Linked DNA regions of Homo sapiens: regions 1 and 2 are each linked to region 3. Evidence: promoter capture Hi-C in 16 types of primary human blood cells and fetal thymus (Javierre and others, 2016). All regions are on one chromosome and are shown on one strand. The core of a region is centred on a gene start or on the middle of the fragment in contact, and the rest is flanking DNA. Distances in the headings are between cores, read along the strand shown.

The links. Contacts are between HindIII fragments. The CHiCAGO score rates a contact against its expected background, and 5 or more counts as called.
Region 1: a fragment that was not itself captured here is called in contact with the fragment with the promoter of TRPS1-AS1 in region 3 in 1 of 17 cell types (M2 macrophages); the score reaches 5.1 in M2 macrophages.
Region 2: a contact is called between a fragment that was not itself captured here and the fragment with the promoter of TRPS1-AS1 in region 3, in 1 of 17 cell types (M0 macrophages). The highest score is 5.4, in M0 macrophages.

Annotation. Positions count from the first base shown.
Region 1 is chr8:116,454,919-116,459,915 of GRCh38, reverse strand. It overlaps LOC105375711 (a long non-coding RNA gene), which reads right to left. Exons shown (of 3, transcript XR_928551.3): 2 at 2,664-2,731. Among named protein-coding and RNA genes, the nearest start is that of LINC00536, 130 kb to the right of the region's middle. The HindIII fragment of the contact is 7,245 bases long and covers 1-4,997 here.
Region 2 is chr8:116,438,462-116,443,060 of GRCh38, reverse strand. All of the region lies in intron 2 of LOC102723447 (a long non-coding RNA gene), which reads left to right. Among named protein-coding and RNA genes, the nearest start is that of LINC00536, 120 kb to the right of the region's middle. The HindIII fragment of the contact is 2,253 bases long and covers 453-2,705 here.
Region 3 is chr8:115,506,909-115,511,589 of GRCh38, reverse strand. It overlaps TRPS1-AS1 (TRPS1 antisense RNA 1), which reads right to left and starts at 1,987. Exons shown (of 2, transcript NR_186605.1): 1 at 1,864-1,987; 2 at 265-541. All of the region lies in intron 5 of TRPS1 (transcriptional repressor GATA binding 1), which reads left to right. The HindIII fragment of the contact is 3,034 bases long and covers 714-3,747 here.

The DNA.
Region 1 (4,997 bases), core at 839-3,338, 950 kb before region 3:
TCGTGCCCTAGAGCAGCTCAGCTTCTAGTCCAGTTGTCCTCAAAGTTTAATGTGTATGAAAATATCCTGGGAAACATTTTTCAGATTTCTAAACTCATCTCCAAGGATTGTGATTCATATGAAGCCTCAAAATTGACTTTTAAAAATAATTCCCGGGTAAAATCATCATCAACTCCATGAACATAAAGTTGTTGTGGATTTGACAGTGACTATCTTCTTGGATTCAGACTCTGAGCTTTTGTTTCTTCCTGTGAGAAAATATTTGCCTTTTACCCCAATGTTGGCCCTTGTCTTGTAATCACCCCTTTGCCATGCCTCTCAGGAACTGGGGACATGCTGCTGAATCCAAGTCCATCATGGCTGGGGTCTGTGTTCTCTATATTAACTGAAGATAAGGATTTCAGAACCCAGAATAAGGTAAGGGACAGGTAATTGATTAGATGAAGATGACAAAGGAAGAATGATTCTATGACATATCTCTGGTATGATAAGGTTGAATCAGAAACAATAGTTGAACCATAGACACCGTTCTGAAGTTGTCATCCTTGGACTTTTCTTCATGACCCAAATTGCCCTTTGAGTTCCTAGCTCATTTTATTCTTCTTTTTGGTTTTCTGGCTCTGGTTTTTGAGTGTGTAAATTCCTATTTCGGACGCTCTTATCTGACCCTGCACCACTTCTAGACTATGACTTAAGTCTAATATTCTGTCGTATATTCCTGCTGAAAACTTACATAATGATAATAATGATGGTGATAATTATGATGATAATAAACATCTACAGAATATATATTTAAGTTTTACATTTATATCATTTAATAAGAATAGTTGGTCTCTTGTTCTTTTCCCCAGTTTTAGGCAAAGAAACTGAAGAACAGATAGGTTAGATTATACAGTTGTTAAGTGGCAGGGCCTGAAGAAAGATGCAGGTAGTTTGGCTTCTGAAGCTGTGCTCTTATCAAGTGTATTATATTGCTTTATTACATCTCTACCAAGCCCTTCATTGCTCACCGAATGACAAAGAAGTCTGTAAAAAAGCCTCCTTTTCCTTTCGTGCTTGTGATAACATATGGCATTGGGGAGCTAGAGTTCCCAATAATTCTTCTTTGGAATTCCTTAGGCAGCATTTAATTTCAACATTCTTTCCCCCAAAAGAGCATTTTTAAAAGCATGACATTTCCTGTTATCTCCCCTAAATAATGAGATCACCCAGATGATTCTGGGGGACTAGTTGCATTTTATCAGTGGCGCCTTTGTTGCACAATTTACATTTTTGCTCTTGAAGATACAATAAAAGATTTATGTCTGACGGGCTGTGATGTGGTTTGCATCTAAGAGAAAAACAATTCCTTCCAAAAAAATACCATATCCCCAAATGATTTCATAATTGCAAACAGTGTTGACGAGCTCTTTGGCTTAAATAAGTTTATAACATATTTGCTGTGTTTTTGTGTAGATATGTTTTGATGCTAAGGAAAAATAATGAAAACCCCTCTGCCATTTCTAATTGAGAAGAAAGAAATGTAATCCATTAGTTGATGTCTCCCATCATAAGATTATTTTTTCTCCCTCATTTCATTCCAGATTTGTTTGAAAAATTAACTTGTGTTAAATAGTTTCAGGTCTGAAAGTCAGCCATGTTTCTCATTATTGGAGATCAAAATGGCCTCATTCCCTTTGTGTGTTGGTGCCACTAAAACACAAGGGAATCTTAAAAGTACAAACTTCTGATAGAAGCACCACATTTCCCTAGTCAATCTGCCCAGCAGAGCTTACATTTTTTTTCCTGCATTTACTGCTGGAACAATGCTTTATACTGACAAGTTTCAGGGTTTTAGTGTCATGCTCAGACTGGGAAAGACTTTTAGTGAAGACATGCTGGCCCCAAGGCTCTAGTCACCCTTGAACTTGTAAATGTGTCATTATGAACCTTGCTCTCTAATGCTCCTTCAATCAACTATTGTCTTTGATCTTTAAGCAGAATGTGAGCATCCACCTGGTGACATAAAGACTCATGACCTACATTAATCTAGGGGTCTCTGCATTTAAACAAACCTGGCTTTCATCCACTGATTGTTATATGACCTGTTTCAAATTTGAAAACTTTCTTCATCTACAAAATGGGACTATTGGTAATAGATGACGTATGTTAAAGAATTGCTGGGCAAAGGAGGACATGTTAAGTGCCCAGTTAGTGCTATTGCATGATACCTTATTACATTGAAAGGGAGGAGATTGATTTCAAAGCCTTCTGAAGATTCTTTCCAGCTCCAGCATTTCATTGTGACACTGCTAGAATTGGTTACCTGGTTGATTCAGTCTAAATGATTAGATGCTAAGGGAAAATTTGAGGGTCATAGAGGCATAGGGCAAGAAATAGCAGCCATCTTCCCTGCTTAAGAGCTGAACCAATTAAGAGAGAAAATCAAGCAGTAAAAGAAGTGGAGATCAAGATATCACTTTTATGATTGATGGAACCAAGAATGAAGACTAAGGCATGTGTCTGTGGCTTCCTCTTGGACAACTCCACAAGGAGCCAGGTTTATCCTTTCAACTGGCCTCGGCACTGGCTTCACACAAGAAGACCAGAGAACATGTGTTCCCTCCTAAGAGCTTGCTCCCTAGAGGAGGTGACAGAGGTCTTCATTCTCATTCCAAACTCACCAGTCAGTGCGGAGGGAGTGAGAGGATGGAGAGGAGCCAAGAGCACTGTGCCAATGATTGTCCTCCACCTGGAAGGGAATATGAGAGATGGGAATGACAGGGTCATCTGCTTCAGTGTCTATTGAGTTCAAGAAATAAATGACCTAGATTTCACTTTGTGAAGATAGAGTTTGTGGGAGATAGGCTCAGACTTAGGTATTTCACCTTCCTTGTAGGTTAAATTGATTCATATCAATGAACTCAGCCTTTTTCTCTAAATCCATAGAGTCCTGGTGGGATAATATCCCACACACAAAGGTGAGAATTAAGTAAATAATCTTCTCTTGACCATCCTCTCTTCCATCTTCCTCTAGCTCCTTTCAACTTATGACCGCAACAATGAATCTTAAATAAACTGCTTCAAAGTCGTCATAATGAAGTAACTGATAGGATAGTACTGGCAGCCACATTGATGATAATGAACCTGAGGATGAAGGTTTGATTTCTAATACGCTTTAGTTTTGAAGTGAGATAAATTGTTTTGTTAGAAGACTTGGCACCTCTGCTCTTGTCCAGCTGTTTAACAAATGTGAGTCCTTGGTCACCAATGAAGCCAGTCTAGAGGGTGTAGATAGCTGAGTGTGAGCCATAATTACTACTGTGAAAACAACTCGAAGCACATGTCCTACTGATGGGTGTGAGATGGCATGCAGTACACGCACAATGCAGACTTTTGGAGGTATGTTTTCAAGTTGTGCTTTGCAGGAGGTCTTAGCCACACACACTTTCAGGGTCTTAGAATCCTAGCTTTATGCATGAGTAGAGGGATCCCCTGTGTATTATTAGTAATTCCTTTTATTTATTGTGCCATCACTTGGAGGGTGTTCTCAAGATCCGAAGCCTTTGCCTCTGTGCTGGGGCCCTTTTCTGTTTTTGTTTTTTTTTTGACGGAGTCTTGCTCTGTCGCCAGGCTGGAGTGCAGTGGGGCGATCTTGGCTCACTGCAAGCTCCGCCTCCTGGGTTCAAGCCATTCTCCTGCCTCAGCCTCCCAAGTAGCTGGGACTACAGGTGCCTGCCACCACACCTGGCTAATTTTTTGTACTTTTAGTAGAGACGGGGTTTCACCTTGTTAGCCAGGATGGTCTCGATCTCCTGACCTTGTGATCCACCTGCCTCAGCCTCCCAAAGTGCTGGGATTATAGGCTTGAGCCATAGCGCCCAGCTCCTTCTTTTACTACTTTTATCATAGTGCATCTGTGTCATATTATTTTTAAAAATTTTTCACTAGGCTGTGAACTCTGGAGGATTGGTGCTGAGACTATCGTGTTCACAGCTATATCAGTAGCACTAAGTACAGTGTCTGACCCATGGGAGGGGATTAGTGGGGATGTTGTTGAATTAAATTAAATGTCAGTTTGCTTCCCAAGGTAGGGCACACAGGCACTCTGGGTTGAGGCTCTGGTTTCGTTAAGAGGGCACCTCTTTAGTCTGGTGACCTTGATTTACTTCTAGCAACAACCTGCAGACTCATACAGTTTTCAAGGGCCTCCAAGATTCCTGAGAAATGAATCACATTAACCTTCTTGTTTGGGATATCTTCATCAACAATACACAGAGATATGTAGGCTGCAGAATTCTCAACACCCCAATGTAAAGAGTCACATTACATCTACCTGTGAACTCTCTGCTGTGTCAGTCTATGTGACTGTCTCCTTGTCCTTCAAGGAGAACCAAGACTGGGATTCAGGCACAAAATTAAAGGTGTGCCAAAAAACTCCATAAGCAAGATAAATAATACTTTAATGTAATATTCAAAATTAATGCAAACATTTTACAACTCACAAAATATGAACTTTTAAATAACGACCGTTTTGGTATTCTTAATTTTCCTTTGCCGCAACGGCACTTCTTTATTGCCTCCCCTGCCTGGTCCTAGAGAAGACAGAACCAATGAGAAATTACCTTGGCCATAACTTTCCTGAATTTTACTCCTTTATTTTATTTTAAAAAGTTTCCATATCGGCTGGGGTGGGTGGTAGTATGGAGTTTCAGTAATACTGAAAGGTAAATGCAAAAACATAATCATAAAAATTGGATGAGGTAGTCAAACCTGAAGTGCCTACATTAGAAAAGATTTAGCAGGGAAAATGTTGCATATTTAATAACTAGATAACGCAAGACTGAAATAAGTAAAATTTAATAACATTCAGAAATACAGCTGCAATATTTCTTTCTCAGATGAATGTGTATGGCTTCATTTTTATTTGCTTTGTCCTTCATTGGAATTGATTTTTAAAAGGGCTTCTTAAATTGTTCTAGATTTCCTTTAAGCAGCACAAAATGCTGTTATATGCA
Region 2 (4,599 bases), core at 330-2,829, 930 kb before region 3:
AAAATGAAGCGTGGAGAGATGAAGTGACTCGCACAAGAATATATATTATTCATTCTTGCTTTCATTCATCACTTATTGATCTGTTTAGCTATTAACTATTTATTGATTGAGGACCTACTATGTTCCAGGCCCTGAGCAAAAAGCACCACTGTTCCTGCCCTCATGTGTTTTATAGTTTACAGGGGGAAATACACATTAATAAAAAGAATGACACAAATATGCAACTGCATCTGTGACAATTACTACATGTTGCTCTAAGAGCTTAACATAGACACATTTGAGCTGGTCAGAGAGGTCACAGAAAATTTCCTTGAGGAAATGATGCTTAAGTAGTGATCTGAAGAATGAATAAGAACTCACAGGGCATTAGAGTGAAGTGAGCAGGAAAGCGCTAAGGCTGAGAGGTGAGTCAGAGCTACACACTGTAGCAACTTGTAGCTCATTCTGAAGCTTTGTTTTAGAGGGGAAGGGAAATGCAGGTAACGAACAATGGGAGGAGGGCAAGGGTGGATGAGGAAGACATTGAAGGCTGTAATAGCGGTCCAGGCAACAGATGACGAAACCTTGGTCTAAGGTAGTAGTGATGAAAGAGCTAGAAAGGAGTGGATATATTCAAGAGATATTTAGAATGTAAAAGTAATCCCAGCACTTTGGGAGGCCGAGGCCGGTGGATCACGAGGTCAGGAGATCGAGACCATCCTGGCCAACATGGTGAAACCCCGTCTCTACTAAAAATACAAAAAAAGAAAAAATTAACTGGTCATGTTGGTGCGTGCCTGTAGTCCCAGCTACTCAGGAGGCTGAGGTATGAGAATCGCTTGAACTCGGGAGGCAGAGGTTGCAAAGAGCCGAGATCGCGCCACTGCACTCCAGCCTGGCGACAGAGTGAGACTGTCTCAAATAATAATAATAAAGAAAAGTCACAGGATATGGGGAATAGAAGACTAAGTGGGGCCAAGGATGACCCCTAGGTTTCTGGGCAGGGAATAAAGATGAATAGTGGTGCCTAGAAGGTGAGGGGAAGGGGAAGATGATAAACTTATTTTAGGAAATGTTGAAGTGAGATGGTAGGTTATAGGTTGAATAGATTGGTCTGGCCCTCAAAGGCATGGTCTGGGCTGAAGATAACGTACTTGTGAATGAGTTGCATATGGTTTCGATAGCTGATGTGATTTATTCATCTGCAGCGCCTGGTATCACATCTCTGTATGTAGAATAATTCAAGTAGTCTTGGACAACAGGCTAAGTGAATTGTCAAACAACTTATTCTATATGGCAAGTACTTGAGGGAAATACGCGAGGTGGATTCAAGTCCTTTGCAGATGAATTAAGTTGTGTGATTTGAAGATACCTCTGTGCCCAGATAGTTTTCTTTTTCCCCTTGACCTGCAGGAGGGCCTGAATTTGCTGGAAGTTATGTTATTCTTTAACTAGTTCTCATTTTATTTGGCTTAGAACGATAAAATTTGAGTGTTTGAAGGGAATGTAAAAGTTGTTTACTCCAAACTTCTCATTCAAAATCTGAGCCTGCTTCACACAATTTCCAGACTTATAACCTCAACTTGAACATGTCTGTGATTGGGAATCCAATATTTGGCAAGATAGTGCAGAGTTTTCATTCTGTTCCCCAAATTCTTCTTTATTTTGGATTCTTCCACCTGGGATAACACAGAATAGTTCTCCTTTCTCTTCCACATAGTAGACCGTCAACTAGTGTTACCCCATAAATCAATCACTACTCTCATCTAAGCTGCCACAGGGGTGAGTGAATTACATTCAACAGTCATGGAAGTCATTGAAGCCCTTGCAAATACATCATCTTACTTAGATGTCACAACACACTTTGAAGTGAGTATTATTATTCCATAAAGAGATGAGGAAAACTTAATCTCTGAGTTAACTGACTTAATGAATGAGAGGTCACACGAGTAAGGAAGAGAGCTAGGATTTCAATCCAGTTATTCTGACTCCCAGCCCAGAGTCCTACTCAAGATGCCCTGAAAATCTGGGTTAGGGCTCAGTACTGACTTCAAAGGTAACACGTTAGTAGCGACCAGTGGAAATCAGCAGAAGGCATGGGGTGGGGGGCTCACCCTGCTGCTCCCCATGGGCTGAATGATGCCTGCCACTTGGACTTCCTCAGGAAATGTTTATTAAAATATAATTACACATGTTCAGACTATTTTTGATTTTGAACAGCTGGAGGCTGGGCATAAACTCTTCAGTTCTCCATTTTCTCCACTGCGTCCTTTGGCTGTATGCATTTGTCTATGGGCACAGCCCTGGAAAGCACTTGTGCTTATCACCTTGTATCCCTTTAGGAATGGCATAGAACTCTAACCTTCAATTTTTTTTCCAGATTTCACACCCTATTAGTTCAAAAAAACTTGAGCACATATCCCAAATATATTTATATGTGTATGCATGGGTTAAATACAAATATTAATGTAATCAAATATTATCTTCATTTAAAAATAAATACATCAAATATAAGTTTAAAGGAATATAAAAAACATAAATGAACAACTTACTATTTTCTTCTTCTTATTCCAACAAATTATCTTCATGAGCTTCCACTGGAGGGACCGCTGAGATGGAGTGTGGAACAGGGGCAGGAGAGGAGCCTGGTGTGACAGGCCATGGCTAGTTGGAGGACTACACCCAGAGACCATAAGGAAACAGAGTAGATGTGCTAACAACAAGCTTTCCTCGGATTGCCCAGCATCAGCCCTGTTCAGAGGAATGCACAATGCTAAGATCTCTCTGGAAGCTCAGAGAGTGAAGGGCTCATTGCTTTGGTCTGTGTTGTTTGTCCTTGGTTTTAATTGTCACTTGTGCCCTGAGCTATGTGGTAATAGCACTAACAGCTAACATTTGTTGACTGCTTACTATGTGCCACTGTGCTGAGAGATTTACGGACATTACCTCATTGTCTTTATTGCAACCCTGCGAAGTACTGTTATCCTCACTTTACAAAAGGGAAGGCTGGGGGCGAGATGTCTCATACCCGTAATCCCAGCACTTTGGGAACCCATCGCGGGCAGATCACCTGAGATCAGGAGTTCGAGACCAGCCTGGCCAACGCATAGTGAAATCTCATCTCTACTAAAAATATACAAAAAATTAGCAGGGCGTATTGGTGCAAGCCTGTAGTCTCAGCTGCTTGGGAAGCTGAGGCAGGACAATCGCTTGAATCCAGGAGGCGGAGGTTGCAGTGAACCAAGATTGCGCCACTGCACTCCAGCCTGGGCAACAGAGTGAAATGAGATTCCATCTCTCTCTCAAAAAAAAAATAAATAAATAAAAGGAAAACGAGGTGTAGAAAGCTGTGATTTACCTATGAGTGTAGGGCTAGTTAGTGACAGAGCTGGGATTTGAACCCAAGTCTATTCTCTACCAAATCACTCATTCTTAACTACTGTGCTATACTGACAATAGGATTAGTGGTTAGATTCCTGGTGGTGATCTGGATGGATTCCATCAATAGATGTAATAGTGATGGGAAGAATCACTAGCCCCACAGACCAAAAGGTTAGGCTTATATCAGGTGTGGATAAATGAGAGGAAACGGCCAGGTTTATAGAAATACAGATGTGCCAGTGCAGTTAAAAATAAAGCTTTTCAACCAAGTCTGAGTTCTTCTTTATTTCTAGCTCACTGGGCTCTTGTCATAATCCATAGCTCTAGGTAGCAAACATCCTAAATACCGTTTTGAATAAGACTGTCGGAGGCTGTAGTTGTTGTCTAGGGCACGTGAGTTCTATTTCAGTCTGTAAATAGATCAACTTTACATTTAAGAGTTTGGAAAATAAGAGAGAGAGAGAGAAAGAGAGAGAGATATCCAGGAATTCAGGAGTTCTCATTATCTGATAGAGTGATTCAAACCATTGGAGTCAGACAGATCTGGGTTTGAATTCTGATTTTGCTATGTATTCACTGTAAGAAATTTAGTGAGTTATCTAAGCTTTTCAAGCCATAATTCCTTCATGTTTAAAGTGAAGATAATGATACCTGCTTCAAAGTGGTGTTAAGATATAATGATATGCTATATGTAGAGTGCTTTGCATAGCACTTGGCACATAGTAAATACTTAAAGATTGATACTAATCATTGATCTCTTTGACCCTCCCTTCTCTAAGAAGAGGCACCGATTCTGTGGCATAAGCCCATGTCCTCTGCTGTGTGGGTTACCTCCTATATGTCCTATTTGAAAATGTTGAAAATGAGAATGAACTTTCTTCTGGATATCCTCAATATCTTGCTACCACAGAAAAAGAAATCTCTTTCCACAAAAGAGAAGCAAGAACTGGAGACACTGAAAGTTTATGGGCTGGAGAAGGCAGCTCTGAGAAGAAGAAAATAATTCTGGTGATCAGTGGCACCCTTCTGAGGGGGCCCAGATGCAGGCCAGATGCTGAGAATCTGTAGAAACTCAGGCTCAATAAATGTCATGCCATGACTTTCATCCATGTGGGCATGAAGAATAGCGACTGATCTCACTGAGATTATTAAGAGTGACTCAGGGTTCTGGAAACAGGGTTGTAGGAGGCTGACACTCAAGGGGTGGTCTTGACAATCCTCCCAGTTGAGCCAAAGAGT
Region 3 (4,681 bases), core at 738-3,237:
ATTTTAGGCAACTAGAACCACAGGTGTCACTTCCAAAATTGATAGCTTGTTATACTGCAACCAGAGTCAATTTTAGATTGGAGAAGAGAAAGAAAAAGATAGGAAATGATTGAAGCTGTGGGCACCAAGAAAGGGCAGTGCTGGAAAGAGAATGAATGACATAGACACCCAATAACAGGGAGCGTTGGTCATTTTTGCATGGACCAAAACAAAATTGAAGAAGTACTGCTGATCAAAGGCCAATACAATGCACACATATCATTCTGGTTAGGTTGTCTCCTGAGAAAAATATTTCTCAGCAGCAGTATGATTTATTTTGAACAATATCTGATTGAACAGCATTCTAGTAATGTAGAAAATTTATAGACATCTACTAAATTTTATTCTAGCAGATAATCCACATTAAAAGAGACAAAAGTCCATGTTTTACCTAGAACCTCTCTGTGGCTCCTTTTCTCCACCAGAAAGACAATAATTTCATATCTGGCAGAAGTTAATGCTTTTTAAGTTCTTGACGTGTATACTCTGTGGAAGAAGTGACCTAAAAGGAAAACCAAATAGTTTGATAAAGGATAACTGTAAAGAACAAAAAAAGTAAAACAAACTACTATAAGACTAATAGTCCTTGAGACAAGCGCATGAATTAGTGATGAAGTATTGCTTTACTACATCCTGAAAATTCTTTACATTTATTTCTTCAGTTGAATGAAGCTTTCTAATATCTGTGTCTGGAACTAATTCTGATAACCTTGGCATTCAAAATGGAGATAAAGGATAGATAGCCTTCCACAAAACGCTTCAGTATGGCAAGAAGAATCATCTAATATTGACAAATAAAGCAACGTGACATCTGTGTTGAATTCCAAATTGACTTGTTGAGCTGTGCAAAAAAGTAAAAGAAGGTGCTTATTTTCAGGATGTGAAATACATTGGGAAAAGCCAAGGTCAAAGATGAAACATGACTCAATGCCAAAGATTTTCAATCTTAATGAAAATCTCTTTCAATAAGAAATTGACGATTGAGAAACAGTGTCATTGTTAGAAGTTCGATGTTCTTTTGGGGGTCTAACAGACGAAGCCCCAGAGAACTGACTTTTATTAATAGATAGCTTAAGATTTATAGCTTAGGAAGAACAGATTAATAGTTTTTGGAGTAAAGCCTGAATTATAGAAGGATGACCTGAGCCCTGGCATGAGTGATCAATCAGTTCAGTGTCTGCAACTGCACAATTTTAAGAACTCTTAAAAGGCTCTTTGGCCACTGAAAATGCATTATAAAGGATAAGTCCATAACCAGCCAAGTCTGGAATATATGTTTATATGGCTATACAGATCCAGTGTTTCTTTAAAAATAAAGCAAAGGGTATGACACAGGTTGGTTTGCTGTTACTTAGGATATGTACGATTGAATTGAGCCTAAGATAAGTGGGATGTACTGGGTAAAATGTGGATGCTGGAGGAGGATGCACAGAGGCTAATTTGAATCCAGGAGATTTTTCCATTTAGGAAATAGAATTGGAGTCAGGGAAGTAAAAATCTTGAATACAAAGCTAAGAAATTGAATTTTCCTTGTTAATCAGGGTTCAACCATTGATGTTTACAAATGAGAAAAATGTTTCATGCAGGTTAATCCTACTGCAATATTGGCAGGAAAGGTGGAGGTCAGCGGGAAGAGACCTCTGGAAACCTGTTGAAGAATGAGTACTTCCAGGGTAAAGCTACAGCAGGCAGGACAGCAGAGTGGTGGCCTAGGCATTGGAGATAAAGGCAAAGATAAAACACAGATGGAAGGAAAATTCCTAAGGCACCATGAGACACTGGATATTGAGTGAGAGAGAATCCAAAGAACGAAGAATCACTCACGTCGAGCTCAGCCTACTAGGACGTCAATGGGTTCCTTATTTGTTTTCTGTAACTCTCTTCTCAAAATGGATCAACTTCTTTCAAACTTCCCTAGTGCAAATTCTGGTTTGGTTACTTTTCTTTTCTGTAAAATGATAAGAACATTAATTAGTCTTGAAGGAACCATTTACTGCATTGCAGATGATTAGAAAATTGACAATACCAACAAAAATTGAATTGGATTCTTTAGGTTTAATATTTGGCCTAAACTAACATATTTCACCTGCCATGTGCCACACTCACTGATTATTCCTGAGATATTCACCAAACCCTTCCCCACACTTGGCAGTGAGTTCATTAATGACAGGTATTTATTTTTTATCTGTCTCCATAGCCTCAACACTTAATAACATTCCTAGCACTTAACAGATGTTCCATAAATGATGATTAAATGAATAAATAGAAGCCTAGTGTGATTCCCAGCTTTGCCTGGAATAGGTCCTGCTCCAATAGGAACTCTTATACCTCTTTAAAGAGATAAGGAGTTCGGCTTCAGGGAAAACACCTTGTAGACTCCATTTATCATTACTTTTCTAGGTTGTTGTCATACAGGAAAAAAGAAATGATCTGACACATTTCTTTCCAGCCTTACACACTAATACAGTATAAGGAGCCACAGAGAGGAATTTTAAGATTTTTTTTAAGGGAGAGTATTTGATTGGCCAAGATGTTTGTTTAATTCAAGAGAAGGAAAGCCCCAAATGCTGCCTAAACATAAACTCACAATTCAAAACATTTTAGAAATTATCTGGCAACTTTACATAGAGTCCAAATGTTTCCAGGGTATGCAGAAAGATGCCCCAAAGTCTTAAGTACCCCCAGGGAAAGTAGATCAAAGTTTAGAGACCATTTAGACTCACTTCCAAAAGGATCTGGCCTCAGAGTTTTGCAGTAGTGAGCAAAAATTCTAGAAAGGTCTAGGTTCAGAAACCATAGCAAAGTTACAAGAGAAAGGTTTTCTAGCTTCTGTTTCTTATGCCATTCAACAAGATTTAGAAGGAAATGCAGCCAAATTTAATGGTCGTTACCTGATGAAAAACAGACATCCTTTGGATTATCCTCAAGCAGAACTGAACAGAACTAAATGCAATTAGAAGACTCCACGGAGGCCAAGATGATCAGATGATCGAGGAAAGCAAACTGATATAAAATATAAGCTCACCATGTTAGGTAACTCATGTGTTTCCAACATGGTGCTATTAGAGGAGCATTAGAGAAATTTACTGTATCATGAAGTGCACATTCGTTTCCTCGGCTGAGGACAGTACTACGACAATATTTGACAGGAAATGTAGAGAATTTTTATTTCAGTCAACTCTAAAAAGAATGGCGAAATTCTTGAAGCTGTGTATGATGATTCTCTATTAATATTCTTTGTTCAATCTTTAAAATGGCGTTTATTTCTCAAAGGAAAGTTCGTGCCATCAATATTGATTCCATTATATTTGTGATATACATCAAGTTTTATCTTCAGAGTGAAAAGTTCTTTGTATATCTTTGTAGTAAACACAGATTTTGTTCTCATTTTGAACATGCACTAATTTCTACATGAACTAAATTTCTACATGAACTGGGCACATTGGCTTAATTTAAATAAACATGTTAAGGTGGTCATTACTATTCAAGAGTCACCAATGTTCTGATTTTTTATTTTATGTTCTGCTTTTTTATTTTAGACAGGCAAGTTGTTAGCATTTTTTTCAAGGAACAAAGAACAAAAATTATCTTGATAAGAACTTGTTTCTGAAAAGCTAGATTAGCTCTTCTCTGCACACCAATCATGCAATGACAGTACAATTTAGTGACTTAAGCAGTACATTAGGATTCTCAGCCTAGGCAGAAGCTTCACCCTCGGGCCAGACCTATATAATAGTTGTAAGAAAATGATTTATGTGTTGTAATAAATGTTACTTCTCAATCTGTTTGCTTGTTCAATGGTTGAGGTCCCAAAAGAAAAGGTCTATCTCAAATTAGGACTGGCATGTATTATCTGTCAACTTTATATAGTACTGTAAAAGTCATTCAGCTGACAGTAATATTAGCGGAATGTTTTATAGATTTTTGTACTGTGTGAAGCTTTGTATGGGTGACGAGAGACTTTGGGTCTGTGGTGCTCTGTGGTCCGGGATAAAGTTGCGTGTAGATGAGTCGTTTCTGTGCTTCTCTGTAAATGAACATCTGGCTCACATATTGATTCCATGTGTGAAAATGAGATCAGCCCATATAATGACCAGAATCAATCAGGCTTCAGCCGAGGAGTAACATACACTGGTCTTGATTTGTTAGACAACCAGAATTGGCAGCACCTTGCATAATTTGGCACCAATTGACAAAGATTAGGCTGTTTGGGGACCCTGAATGGTTATTAATTTGAAAACCCCTTATATATTTTGCAGAGTAAAATCAGCTGTAACTTATTTGTTCCAGCCCCCTTCTTCTCGTACGAGCCCTAATTGTTTTAGACAAACGAACGAGCTTGCAGCCTGTTCACTTTACACAGGAAGACATGAATTCTTTGATCCATACAGTATTCTTTAGCTCAACCTTGGAGCTATTTACTGAGGAGATTTATTTGCAGACAGACAGTAGAACAGTTCTTTGTGAATAGAAATGAGTACAGCTTCTATGTGTTTTCAGCTCAAGTTTCTGCTACTTACTGTAAGGGAGATAAAACTAAGCCATCTTTATTTTTAACCCAAATCATTCTTTTTTAAAATATAGTTTTAAAAACTGAAAATGAATTAGACTCTTGACCTTTTTACTTTTTCCTCACAAGTTA